4 separate regions of the Homo sapiens genome follow, and all the other regions are linked to region 2. The links are contacts of gene promoters, found by promoter capture Hi-C in blood cells and fetal thymus (Javierre and others, 2016). All regions are on one chromosome and are shown on one strand. The core of a region is centred on a gene start or on the middle of the fragment in contact, and the rest is flanking DNA. Distances in the headings are between cores, read along the strand shown.

Region 1 (2,815 bases), core at 179-2,678, 300 kb before region 2:
AAAAACTCCATCTACTAATAATGAAGCTTAGTAGTAGTAAAATGATGATTTTTAGCCATAAAACGGGTTTTCTATATCTTCACAAATATAGTGTAGAGTTTCACAATATTCTTTGATATGAACCAGTCTCTCATACTTTCTGTATAGCACTGATTCGCTAAGTAAGATGCCAAGGCATGACCTCCCTTCAGGAATTGGGAATCTGCATTTTTAATAAGCATCCTAGGTAATTCTTTTTTTTTTTTTTTTTTTTTTGAGACGGAGTCTCGCTCTGTCGCCCAGGCCGGACTGCGGACTGCAGTGGTGCAATCTCGGCTCACTGCAAGCTCCGCTTCCCGGGTTCACGCCATTCTCCTGCCTCAGCCTCCCAAGTAGCTGGGACTACAGGCGCCCGCCACCGCGCCCGGCTAATTTTTTGTATTTTTAATAGAGACGGGGTTTCACCTTGTTAGCCAGGATGGTCTCGATCTCCTGACCTCATGATCCACCCGCCTCGGCCTCCCAAAGTGCTGGGATTACAGGCGTGAGCCACCGCGCCCGGCCGCATCCTAGGTAATTCTTATGCATGATACAGGTTGAGACCAGTGCCATGTACAGAAGTGGGAAAAATGGCTTATGAAACTCAGTTGTATTTAGCACACTGTGTTAGACATAAAATTTGAAAACCCAACCTGGACAACACAGTGAGACCCAGTCTCTACTAAAATAAAATAAATAAGTGAACATTGAAAACCAATGGATAGTAGAATGTATTCAGTTCAGTGAGACATGAAACAATATTTTTGCTTAATTGAATCAAACATATGTTAAAAAAAAAAAAAAAACTCACCCTACTCCCAAAGCACTCAATAAATTCTTCAGAGAAAAGGAAGAGCTTTTTGTACTACATTGCCTCTAAAATCTTCTGTAGGATAAGACATTTTAAGATCACTTAAAATCTTGTTTTAAGTTTTTAAGTCTCATTTTAATAACCAAATAAAATGGTTTTTATTTGAGCCAGTTTCAAGTTCTTAAAGTGACACATAGGACTTAACAAAATCCATTAGTTGTCATTTGTGCTTTGCCCATTTTTACTGATTTCTTCATACTCTGAAGGAAAAAAAATGCTACAAATGTATGTTGGTATATAAGAGAGTGCATTCCATAAATATTAGAAATTTTTTTTTTCTTTTTTTGAGATGGAGTTTCACTCTTTCGCCCAGGCTGGAGTGCAGTGGTGCCATCTCAGCTCACTGCAACCTCTGCCTTCCAGTTTCAAGTGATTCTCCTGCCTCAGCCTCCTGAGCAGCTGGGATTACAGGCGCCCGCCACCACGCCCAGCTAACTTTTGTATTTTTAGTAGAGATGGGGTTTCACCATGTTGGCCAGGCTGGTCTTGAACTCCTGACCTTGTGATCCACCCACCTCAGCCTCCCAAAGTGCTGGGATTACAGGCGTTAGCCACTGCGCCCGGCCAGAAAAATATTTTATAGAATTCAAACTTGTATTTTCTTTTGAAGGGATATAAAAAGGGTGAGAGAACCCAACAACCACACTTATTCAAATTTATAAGGATAATTAGGAGTATTCTCATGGTTATCTTTAGAATCTTAGCAGGGTAAAAAAGAGTTTATTGTTTCATTTGCTGAAACTCCTGAGAAGAAGTCTCACCACATTTGTATTTACAGAGATTAGATTTGGCAACTCTAAAGACAAGAGAAATTACTCATGATAAGTGTTTGGAGGGGTTGGAGAGAAAACAGCTAATTAGGCACTTGGCAGTGTGGCAGGGCAACCTTTGGGCAACCCAGTCCAGATTAGGTTAGAAGAGGAGCACGGACCTTTTGTCCACTGCAAACCAGTGCCACAAATGAAGTGGGAAGAGACAGGTTACCACATACTGGTTGGACTTGAGAGAGAACCAGAAAGTGTACAATCCCATAAGCATAAAAAATGGGGATAAAACTTCAAGTGTATATAAGGGTAAGAACAGGAGGAAGCAGTAACAGAGAGGGCAGGAGAGAAAGATCAGAAGGAATCGGACGCCTGAGAAGAGGAACTGGGGGCTGAGTCCTGTCCTGGCCTGGCCGCTCCCCATTCCTCCCTCTGCCTCTGAGGGCTTCAGTTTTCCCAAGTGAGAAACAGCTGTGCTAGATTGCTTCTACAGTCCTTTCCACTCCTGGACCGAAACAGTTGCCCCTGCATCTAAAATACGTAGCTCTAGCATATAAAATGCAGGTTACCTCAACTCCCCCCCGACTCCCACATCTCACTCCCTTCCTTTCCCTGCCTGCCCTAATTCTGGCTGCGTTCTGTTCTTGCCTCATATGGACTCTTTTTCTCCTCCCCTTCTTTTCCAATGTCATGCAGTCTCTTAACACTGGGTTTCAACCACTATACAGAAAAATGTTAGTGAAAAAGGAAGAGGGGTTCCATGCTGCTTGATTCTCCCTAACCAGGCACACTAAACTAGGGGTGACAGTGTATCACAAAGTCCAGACTCACAGTCTTGCTGCCCCTTCTCCTCTTCAAAGTTTGTTTCCGAAGTACCACCCCTTGCACCTCACATCCCAGCCAACTCTGCCTACCTGTCAGCCCCAGCCCTCCTCAGGCCTGCCTCAGCCTCACAGCCAGGATCCTACCAACACCAACACCGCGCCAAATAACCCCTCCCAAAAGCCTCACCGGAACTAATCTGGGGACTCTGCCTATTATTAGGAACACCTTGGATGAAGCCCCTACCCGCAGAATTCTGGCAGTAGCAGCAGAATTTTCAGGCATGTGCCTAATTTTGTTGGGGTGGTGGTTGATTATTTTTTTTAAATCTAGGATTTCT
Region 2 (3,147 bases), core at 208-2,707:
TCGGGATATATTTTGGACGCAGAGCCCACAGGACTTGTTGGTGAATTAGATACAGGGAGAGAATCAGTGAAAAAAAGGGGAAGGGAGGGATGTTTCCTAGATTTTTAGCCTGAACAACTAGTAGTTGTGAAGCCTCAGGATGGGGATCACTGGGAGAAAAATGGATTGGGGGTGGGGGAATTCAAGACATCTATTTTAGTCAAGTTAGCTTTGCATGGCTATTAGACATCCAAGTGGAGATGTCAAGTAGGCTGTCGGATAAATGAGTCTGGCGCTCTGGATATAAATTTAGGACTCACTGACATTTACATAGTATTTAAGCCCTGGGACCGGATGAGATCACTGGACAGAGAATGTGGAAAGAGAGAATGGCCAAGGACTAAGCCCTAGGAGGCTCCAACATTTAGAGGTCACCCGAGGAAGACTAAGAACAGTCAGTGAGGTTGGAGGGAAATGAGGAGAGTGTGGTGTCCTGGAAGTGCCCTGAGGAAAAACAGCGTAGTGTGGTAGAGAGGGATGGGATCCAGGTGGTGGGAGAAGGGGCAGGAGAGGCTACTTTTGATAGAGACATTAGGGAAGGCCTCCCAGAAGGCGTTGGATCTAAGTGAGACTGGAATGAAAACAGTAAGTCATTGTGAAAAGCCAGGGAAATGTATTACTGAGGGAACAGCAAGTGCAAAGGCCCTGAGGCAGGTTAAACCTGTCTCCAACCAGGAAATCCACCAGGTCCCATGTGGCTGAAGCATAGAAATCTTTAGGAAAGGCAATCAGAGAGCCACCTAAGAGCCAGGTTATATAGGGTCTTGTAAGTCACAGCACGGAGTCTAGGTATTCCAGTGCTGGAAAAGCCCAGGAATTTCGACGTGATCCACTTAATGCATGGTAGCAGGGCCAGAGTGAAATAGGGGATCAAGCTGTGGGGATAATCCAAAGATGGTGCAAGGTCCTTCCTCCCCAGTCCTTTCCTCCACCCCTTGCCCCCAGCCTTGACCTCAGGCACTTTCTACAGCGGGCAAAACCAAGTTGGGGGACAGGCAGTGGTGACTCACGCCTGTAATCCCAGCACTCCGGGAAGCTGAGCGGGAAGGATCGCTTGAGCCCAGGCGTTCGAGACCGGGCTGGGCAACACAGCGAGACCTCATCTCTACAAAACACAATACAAAAGAACAAAGTTGGGAATGCAGAGCATTGAGTGACTCAGAATCTCAGAAACTGACTGAGGCGACCATGGGTGTCCCTGGAGTTGGGGTGAAGGAGGTGGGGAGACTGCCATCAGAACCCAGGGAAGCGGACGGTCGCTGGACCCTGCCAGCCTCTTCAGCCCTCCACCTGGGACATAGCCTGGCTTGACTCCTGCAGCGCGGCAGCAGGAGGGTTAAACCGTGCGTGGCCTCCGGCGCGGGGGGGAGGCGGAGACGGAGACGGAGCGGTCCCAGCCGCCGCGCCGAGCCCAGCCGAGCCGAGCCGAGCCGAGCCGAGGCGAGCATCTCCCACCGCCGCCGCCCCGCGCCCCAGGCGCCCGCCCCCCACCCGCTCCAGCGCCCTGCCGCGGGCCAAACCTCCCCACCATGCCCCGCACCCCGCCCGCTCCTGCGACCCCCCAGCCCCGCTCAGTCCCGAGCGCCCGCAGTCGTCGCGCCGCCGCGCCAAGCATGCAGGTGAGTGAGAGGGACCCCCACGCCCCCACCCGCGGGGAGCCCGGCCCTGCCCTTCCCGGCTCCGCGCCCTGCGCCTCCTGCCCCTCCCGACGCGGTCCCTCGCCCGGGACAAGGCCTCCAGCCTCCCAGCGCCCCTTCCCCGAAGGGCTCTCCATCCCTCCGCGGTCCTGGCTCGCTCCCGCCCTCCCTGGCGCAGCCGTCCCCGTCCCCGCGGCTGCCTCCATCCCGCCTCGGCTCGGCGGGCGGCTCCGCGCAGTCTCCTGCTTCGGGTCCCCAGTCCGCTCTCGGCACTCCCTGCCTCGGGGTCCCTTCGCCGACCTCCTTTTCCTCGTCTCCCCCCACTCTCGCCGCTCTCCAGCCCTGTGCGGGGAGTGCGGGCCTGCGGGATGGGTGGGATGGGGGCCACGCTGGGGCTGGGGCCCGGCTCCCGCACCCCGAGGCTCCTGCCCCACCCCCAGCTCGTCTCCTGCGCACAACAGGTCGGTGAGAAGCTGGGAGAGGGGTGGGGGTGGCGCGCCAGCCCGGGGACTGCGGGCTTCCTGGAGGGGGCGGCTGAAGCTGTGCGGGGCCCAGGGACTGGGTTGGCGCTGGCTGGGGGTGGGGATGCACAGGCGGAGGGGCGATAGTCCTAGAGTCAGCTGGCCACAGATGCGCCCTGGGAGCCCTTCTCCGCTTCACTGGTTCGCTCTACACGCCTCGCTCCCTCCCTCTAGCTTTCTTCCTTTCCCCTCTCTCTCCCTTCTTCCCACCATGCCCCCATCCCTATGTCTTTCGGTATCTCCACATCCCTTTACATTTGGGGGAGCAATTCCGAACTCCTCCATCTTTGCTGCTCCCGCCTCTGCTTCCCAGCCCGTTCCTCGTGTCATTTTTCCTTAAGCATTTATGTTCTCTCCTTCCCCACTTCCTTTCTCCCCATCCTGGGCTTTCCCCCCTTTTCTCCCATCCCCTTACTCTCCACTCCTCTGGCTGTCCTGCCTGGACCGCTCTCTCCTTCTCCTCCTGCCCCTTCTTCCCCTGCACCTGTGACCCCTTCATCCTCTCCGTTTCCCCTCCCTGACCTTTTCTCTCATCCTTTCCTCCCTTCGGCATCCTCCACAGTTCGAGTCTTCTGTACCCACTCTCCTCCTCTCTTCCCAGTTCTCTCTTTTTCAGGACTGCCTGCTCTCTCTCACCCTGCACTCCAGGCCAGCTTCCTCTTCACATTTCTCCTCTCTCACTCTTAACCAGCCTTCCATCTCCCAGCCCTTCACCCCTTCCCATCTCTCCCACTGCCTGCTTCCCCACGCCCTTCCCGTGACTTTCCCATCTTGTTCCCTTGTTGTTCTCTGGGAAGATTCAATGGGCAGATTTATTTATTTTATTTTTTGAGTCGGAGTCTCGCTCTTGTTGCCCAGACTGGAGTGCAATGGTGTGATCTCAGCTCACTGCAACCTCCGCCTCCCAGGTTCAAGGGATTCTTCTGCCTCAGCCCTCTGAATAGCTGGGA
Region 3 (3,182 bases), core at 91-2,590, 390 kb before region 2:
CCCTCCAAGCGTTGGTGGATCTTGCACCTTCTGTGTGCCTGCTGTCTAACTACTGATGATGTGGTCACTGCCTGATGGGGAACTGCATCAGCTCTGTGAATTCTTGCAATCTATTGCCTGGGAAAGTGTCTTGCACATTAAACAGGTAGCCCATAAATGGATGAACGGGGGTGGGGGCAGAAGGGTGGAGGTTGGAGGGATTCATCTAATAAGGGAAACAAGCAGAACAGCCTACAAAGGCTTAAGAACGCAGAGTCCTGCTCTGCAGCCCAAGCCCCTCCGTGGGATGAAGTGCCATCAGATATTTGGTGCCATGGAGAGTTGATGAAGAAAGCCTTCCAAAAACAATGAAATTGTTTTTTAATTTATTTTAACTTTTAGAGACGAGATCTCACTATGTTGCCCAGGCTGGTTTCGAACTCCTGGGCTCAAGAGATCTTCCCACCCTGGCCTCGAAAAGTGCTGGCATCACAGGCATGAGCCACCACACGTGGCCAAGAGCAAAAGTTTTAAAGCAGGACACTATGGCCTGATGGACAGGAGAGACTAGGGTCCCTCCTCCCTCCCAGGGGCCTGGCTTCATCTCAGAAAAACCGAGTCCCTCTTGCTCCACACCCGCATCCTTAGCTTCAGCCCTGGCAGTTGTGTTGAGCAGATGCTAAGGAGATGGGGACATTTTACCCCCTCCGCAGCCGCCCCAGAGGGTCTCAAACCCAGGGCTGATTTAGGGTTGCCCTGACATGGCCAACCCTATTCTATGTCCAAGTGTCATTCATGGCTAAAGCAGGCCAGGGCCCCAAGGCAACCAAGCTCCTCTCTCCTCTGCCCGCTCCCACACACCCTCCTCTGCCCCAGTGTTCCTATCATTACGTCCTGGGCATTGAAACCCGGGCCATTCTTGGACCAGGGCTGTGGGCTGAATGAGGGCAGGAAGAACAGGGTCAATGGGAAAGGACAGCCCAGAAAAGAGAATTCACCACCACCTGTGGTCTCCCACTGCTTTGGTAGGAACCTTGTAAACACAGCAGCAGCCCCCAGGAAAGTCTTGGAAGAAGGGAGAAGCTGATCAGATTTAGAGACTGAGACATCTGGGCCTCCAACCCAAGGCTCCCCGGGCCCTAAAAAGCCAGACTCCCGTCTCCTTAGCCCTTTCCCTCACCGACCAGCAGGTGGCACCACAAACAGGGATTTCAAAACCAAAACTAAATTAAAGTGGAAACTCAGATCTTTTGTTTATGCAAATAGTTCATTCCCTCCAACATTCCTCCGGGAATGGTCCCCCCTCCACTCCACAGAAAACCCTCCCCTCCCTGCTGTGCATGACGCGGGCTCCCTCTGCACACAGTGCACGAAGACGCTGTCGGGAGAGCCCAGGATTCAACACGGGCCTTGAGAAATGTGAGTAAGGGTGATGGGCAACCAGGTGGGAGGGAGAAGCCAGGGGAGAAGCCAGGGCATGGGAGGCAATTCAGGGAGACAGGAACACCCTTCTCTCTTCACACACCTCATCAGTTCCACTGTGCACACGCGTGGACACACACAACACACGCCCCATCCCTCCTCCTAGGGATCAGAGGAGACTTCATACATAGATGCTCATGCCATGGTCCTTTCTTCCCTCTGGGCTCTTGGCAGGGAGCAGCGAGAGGAGGGGACCCCTTGCCCAGGACGGGACACTCTGTGCCTGTGTCCCCCACTCCACAGATGGTTTCTCCCAGACGCTCTTGCTGAACCTGTGGGAGCCCTTTCAGAGACCCACGGGTGGAAACCCTCACCCTCCATTAACTGGTCCCAAGCCAGTCCTATTCCTGGAAGGGGAGGGGAGGGACGCGTCCGGGCAGGGGAGGAGGCTGGAAAGGGAGTGTGAGGGGAGTGTGGTGGCCTCTGGACTGGACACTGCCCTGGAGAGTGACCCGATGCAGCAGCTGCACAGGCCATCCTCCCCACCCACGCACCCCTGCTGAGAACATGTCTGTGAGGTTCAGGGTGGGCAGAGAGGAGAATGCCCAGTGGTATGGCCGTCTCATCCCCTGCCACAGCCACTGCCCACATGGCAAGAGTGCTGAACCCCTCCAGCTCCAGATACTCTCTTTTGTTTTGGCAGGTGGCTCTTGTACCTCCTGGTGCCGGCCCTGTTCTGCAGGGCAGGAGGCTCCATTCCCATCCCTCAGAAGTTATTTGGGGAGGTGACTTCCCCTCTGTTCCCCAAGCCTTACCCCAACAACTTTGAAACAACCACTGTGATCACAGTCCCCACGGGATACAGGGTGAAGCTCGTCTTCCAGCAGTTTGACCTGGAGCCTTCTGAAGGCTGCTTCTATGATTATGTCAAGGTAGGGGCAGGATGGGCGGGCAGAGGGGAGACAAAACTGGGCCCTCTGGGATCTGGGATCTGTATGGCATGCACACCCCCAGACACAGCCCAGCCCCACAAGAGCTGATGGCCAACGGCCTCTCTGAGAGCCCGGGGATGCCCTGGATGGGCGCTCACTGGTGTAGAGGCCCTCGGTGAGCACTGAGGGGAGAAGCACAGAGAAGGAAGGGGACAGGACCCACTCAGGAAATTCAACATCCACTGAGTCAGGAAAACCTTCCCCATCTGCTGTCTAGCTGAGAGTCTTTGGGAAACCACTGTGCCTCAGCTTCCCTGTCTCCAAGGAAATGATTGACATGGCTGCCTGCTTCAACAGGAACACAGGGACATGAGGAGGAGAAATGTGGGCTCTGGCAGCACAGGAATAGCCTTCAGCAAGGACAGTGTGCTCAGAACCCTCACCTCTGTGGCAACCAAGGGTACCTTCCCAGGCCTGTCTTTCTCTATCCAGTAAAAATGAGATTCAGGGCTCAAGCAGAGCCTGCGAAGGTCCAACAACTACCATTCCCAGGAGACCCCTGGAGATTATGCGTGAATTACATGACAATGGCACGTCTTACCGGCTCAGAAGACTTGGCGAGTGTGCAGTGTTGGGGGAGGGCGTTTGCTGGCAGAGTCAAGGAGAGGTTGAGGAGGCTGTGAGGAGGAAGGAAGAGGGACGAGGCAGTGCCTGCTGACACTGAGATGGGTGGGCTTCAGGGCTCATGTTCCGCCGAGGGCATCAGGAGGCACTCGAGGTGTGAATGGTTTGATTAGGCTGAGGTGGAATCTGAAGACAGAAAATAAAGCGGAGCTGTCTGAGCTCTGG
Region 4 (3,108 bases), core at 267-2,766, 370 kb before region 2:
GATTACAGTTGCTTTCAGAAGGTGACTCCCAGTCACCCATGGCTATCATCTCTCCCCAAGCCTCAGCCCTCCTTACCTGGAACACATTTCGGCAGCTCCGGGCCCAGCACCTCATTCACCCAGCTCCCGTTACCAGCACAGTGATACTCCCCTGGAATAGCACAGAGAACACAGGCCACACTCACCACCACATCTTCCTTCTTCCATTCCCCCCTCCGACCCCAACACCCTGCCCCGTTCCTTCAGAACCTCAGCTCGTCTAGGATTCAAGTAGTAAATCAGATTAAATCAGCCAGAAAAAAAATATCTTCCTCCAAACAATCCCTCAGGCCTCTAGCCTGCCAGGGAGACAAAGGGAACATCTCCAAAGCAGAAGGAAAGAAGGCATCGGGAAAGTGGCGAAATAAATACAGAGCAATGCAGAGAACGTATTAGGGTCTCATTCAGCCCTGCACCTAGCATGACCAAAGCCTCTACATCAAGAAAGCCAGTCAGTGTAGTTTGGTGGCTTAAAGCTGAAGGCATTGCTCCTGTGGGTTTTACATGAAATAACTGGTCAAAAGGTGGGTAATCCCATGAAATGGATGTTGTAGGGGAATTCCTGCTGCAGCTGTGAACTCAGTTGGTGACCTCTATGATTCCCTGAGGCTGATGCTCCCCTGAACTTGCCCTGCTCCAGATGAAAACTGTATCTTTGGACGAAGCCAAGGGGATGAACAATGTCTGTCCTATCGCCTTCATTTGTCTCCAAACTCTGTCTCTGGCACAGATTATGCTATCCACCCTCCAACACCTTCTCACTCTCTCTCTCTCTTCTCCAGTAGAAGAAACCTACCACCTCCTCCATTTTCCATGTAGTAATATGGCTCCTCACAAGTGTAGCGGATGACAGAACCAAACAAAGTGCTCTCTGGGTCTTCAACTTTACCATTCTCAATGGATTCAGGAATGCCACAGTCCACAGCTACCAGACGAAGGAAGGAGAGCGATGGTCAGGACAGCCACTTCCTCCAAGGAAGAGTCATGGGGCCAGGTTCATCCTCACTGCTTCCCCACCCCATATCCACAGGCACACCTGGGATGAACCTCCCCACACCAGCCTCTCTGTGGCCATCCTCCCCAACTGGCATCTCTCAGCTCTCTCACCCGCTGAGATGCCAATTCAGATGGCCCCATGAAAGCCGTAGTGAAGAGCCTGGTTCTCAGTGGTTGGTGAAGGCCCAGTGGAAGCCACAAATGCACCCACGTGGGGCTACTAACTCGACCTATCCCATAGCCCCTTTCTTGGAAAGAAACATGCCGATCTAGTTGGCCTGGGACCAGATGCGGGGCTGGGACTAGAAAAGCTTCCATGACTGGCTTCCCTTCAAAAACCCAACCCACTCCCTCACATGCCTAAGAGGAAACCATGCATTTGAATTTTGATGTGCTGATCTTTCCATTCTCTCTGAGAGAAAAAGAAAGACTTCCACTTTGAAGAGACACATACGTTGACATTTCAGTTTGGAATTACTCCACTTTCCATTGCTTTGACAAGTCGAATAGAAAGATGTTGCACCAACACGTCCCTGGAGAATAATAAACATCACCACTTATTTCTGAAGAGAGATATGGGAAACCAAAATCAAAACTGGAATTGATCTCTGGCCTTGGATCAATGAGGAGTCCTCACCACAAGAAGCTTGGGAACATCTTAGCAGACCTAAAGCACCCAGGAGATGAGGCTGACAGAAAGCTTTGCCCCAACGTGTCAACTCCCCTTCCTCAAGAAGACTGAAGGCAGAGAGAATGCCAAGCTGGCCAGGCAGCTCCATGACTCACAAGGGAGAACTACAGATCTTAAGCTGTTGTGTTTATGGGAAAGGTGTTATACCTTGATCACACACATACATTGGGTAAACAACTGGACAATTTCAGTCCGCTCATCCTGATCTGGGGCCAGGGACTGGGGAGAAGCCAAGGTGGTACTTTACCTCCACAACTTCAAACCCATCCAGACAGGTTATCTGCACCACATCTCTAAAGACATATTTTGCCTTCGCAGGCTCCCAAACAGAATTGGGAGTGTCTTCCTTAGGGCAGGGCATTGCTTGAAAGAACAGAAGTTGGGACAGGAGGAAAAAATTACTAAATAGTTGAAGACTCTCATTCTATTTACATCATTCTCACACTTTCTAAAATCGTCCAGTTGTCCTCAATCCTGATGCTTAACATTCCAATACAGCAGATGTCTAAAATCATATGGCATTACCAACTAACCACCCGCAAGCTGTCTGCAGTCTCAGGTCTAGTTAAAGGATTACTAGAGGTTGAGGCATTTCTAGCAACCGTTGACTGGTTTAGATTTTCCTGAAGAAGTGAAGTATCTCAGGATTCTATCAGAACAACAATCTATCTGTTTTTTAAATTATTGTTGCTTTGTTTTTGTTTTGTTTTAGAGACAAGGTTTTGCTCTGTTGCCCAGAGTGGACTCAAACTCCTACTTCCTGGGCTCAAGGGATCCTCCTGCCTCAGCCTCCCTCGGTAGCTGAGATCACAGGTGCTTCCAGTGTGCCTGGATCATCTACCTGCTTTGATCCCACATTGTTTGGGGACTTTGGTATCACCAACCAAAGAGGCACTTCTAAGTTACTCACGATCTCCATGATAGCGAAGTTTCCAGCCCTTTTTTTGCCCTGTTAGATCAGTTTGGAAGATGATATCAAGAGCATTACTCTTGGTTTCAATATTTAGAGGCCCAGGGAATCCATGACCACAGTAAGGACCAAATTGCCGATCTCCTGCAACAAACTGAACAAAATGATGAAATCAGAAGAGGGAAAGAACTAAAGGGAAGAGGTAAAATTGGGAAGTGGGAGATACAAATAAAAGAGGCATTAAATGTCACATAAAATAAGAAGAAAATAAGGGTCAGGAGAAAAGATAATTTTATCTTCAGGCTGAGTGCAGTGGCTCACACCTATAATCCCAGCACTTTGGGAGGCCGAGGTGGGAGCATTGCTTGAGGCTAGGAGTTTCAGGCTATCCTGAGCAACATAGCAAAACCCCATCTCTGTAAAAAAAAAAAGAATAACAATAAAAATATTAGCTGGGTTTGATGACACACGT

What was found. The method cuts DNA at HindIII sites, captures the fragments that hold promoters and counts their contacts. A CHiCAGO score of 5 or more calls a contact.
Region 1: a fragment that was not itself captured here is called in contact with the fragment with the promoter of PIANP in region 2 in 1 of 17 cell types (non-activated CD4 T cells); the score reaches 5.2 in non-activated CD4 T cells.
Region 3: the fragment with the promoter of C1R here is called in contact with the fragment with the promoter of PIANP in region 2 in 2 of 17 cell types (activated CD4 T cells and non-activated CD4 T cells); the score reaches 6.0 in activated CD4 T cells.
Region 4: a contact is called between a fragment that was not itself captured here and the fragment with the promoter of PIANP in region 2, in 1 of 17 cell types (naive CD8 T cells). The highest score is 5.4, in naive CD8 T cells.

The regions. Positions count from the first base shown.
Region 1 is chr12:7,001,369-7,004,183 of GRCh38, reverse strand. All of the region lies in intron 1 of LPCAT3 (lysophosphatidylcholine acyltransferase 3), which reads left to right. Among named protein-coding and RNA genes, the nearest start is that of LPCAT3, 16 kb to the left of the region's middle. The HindIII fragment of the contact is 2,800 bases long and covers 29-2,815 here.
Region 2 is chr12:6,699,125-6,702,271 of GRCh38, reverse strand. It overlaps PIANP (PILR alpha associated neural protein), which reads left to right and starts at 1,457. Exons shown (of 5, transcript NM_001244014.2): 1 at 1,457-1,658. RefSeq lists an enhancer at 2,176-2,677. The HindIII fragment of the contact is 12,862 bases long and covers 1-3,147 here.
Region 3 is chr12:7,090,603-7,093,784 of GRCh38, reverse strand. C1R (complement C1r) reads left to right here and starts at 1,340. Exons shown (of 11, transcript NM_001733.7): 1 at 1,340-1,398; 2 at 2,105-2,333. The coding sequence starts at 1,397. RefSeq lists an enhancer at 998-1,292. The HindIII fragment of the contact is 12,054 bases long and covers 1-3,182 here.
Region 4 is chr12:7,065,499-7,068,606 of GRCh38, reverse strand. It overlaps C1S (complement C1s), which reads right to left. Exons shown (of 12, transcript NM_001734.5): 7 at 2,637-2,790; 8 at 1,974-2,089; 9 at 1,490-1,568; 10 at 836-964; 11 at 77-151. Among named protein-coding and RNA genes, the nearest start is that of C1S, 6.3 kb to the right of the region's middle. The HindIII fragment of the contact is 335 bases long and covers 1,349-1,683 here.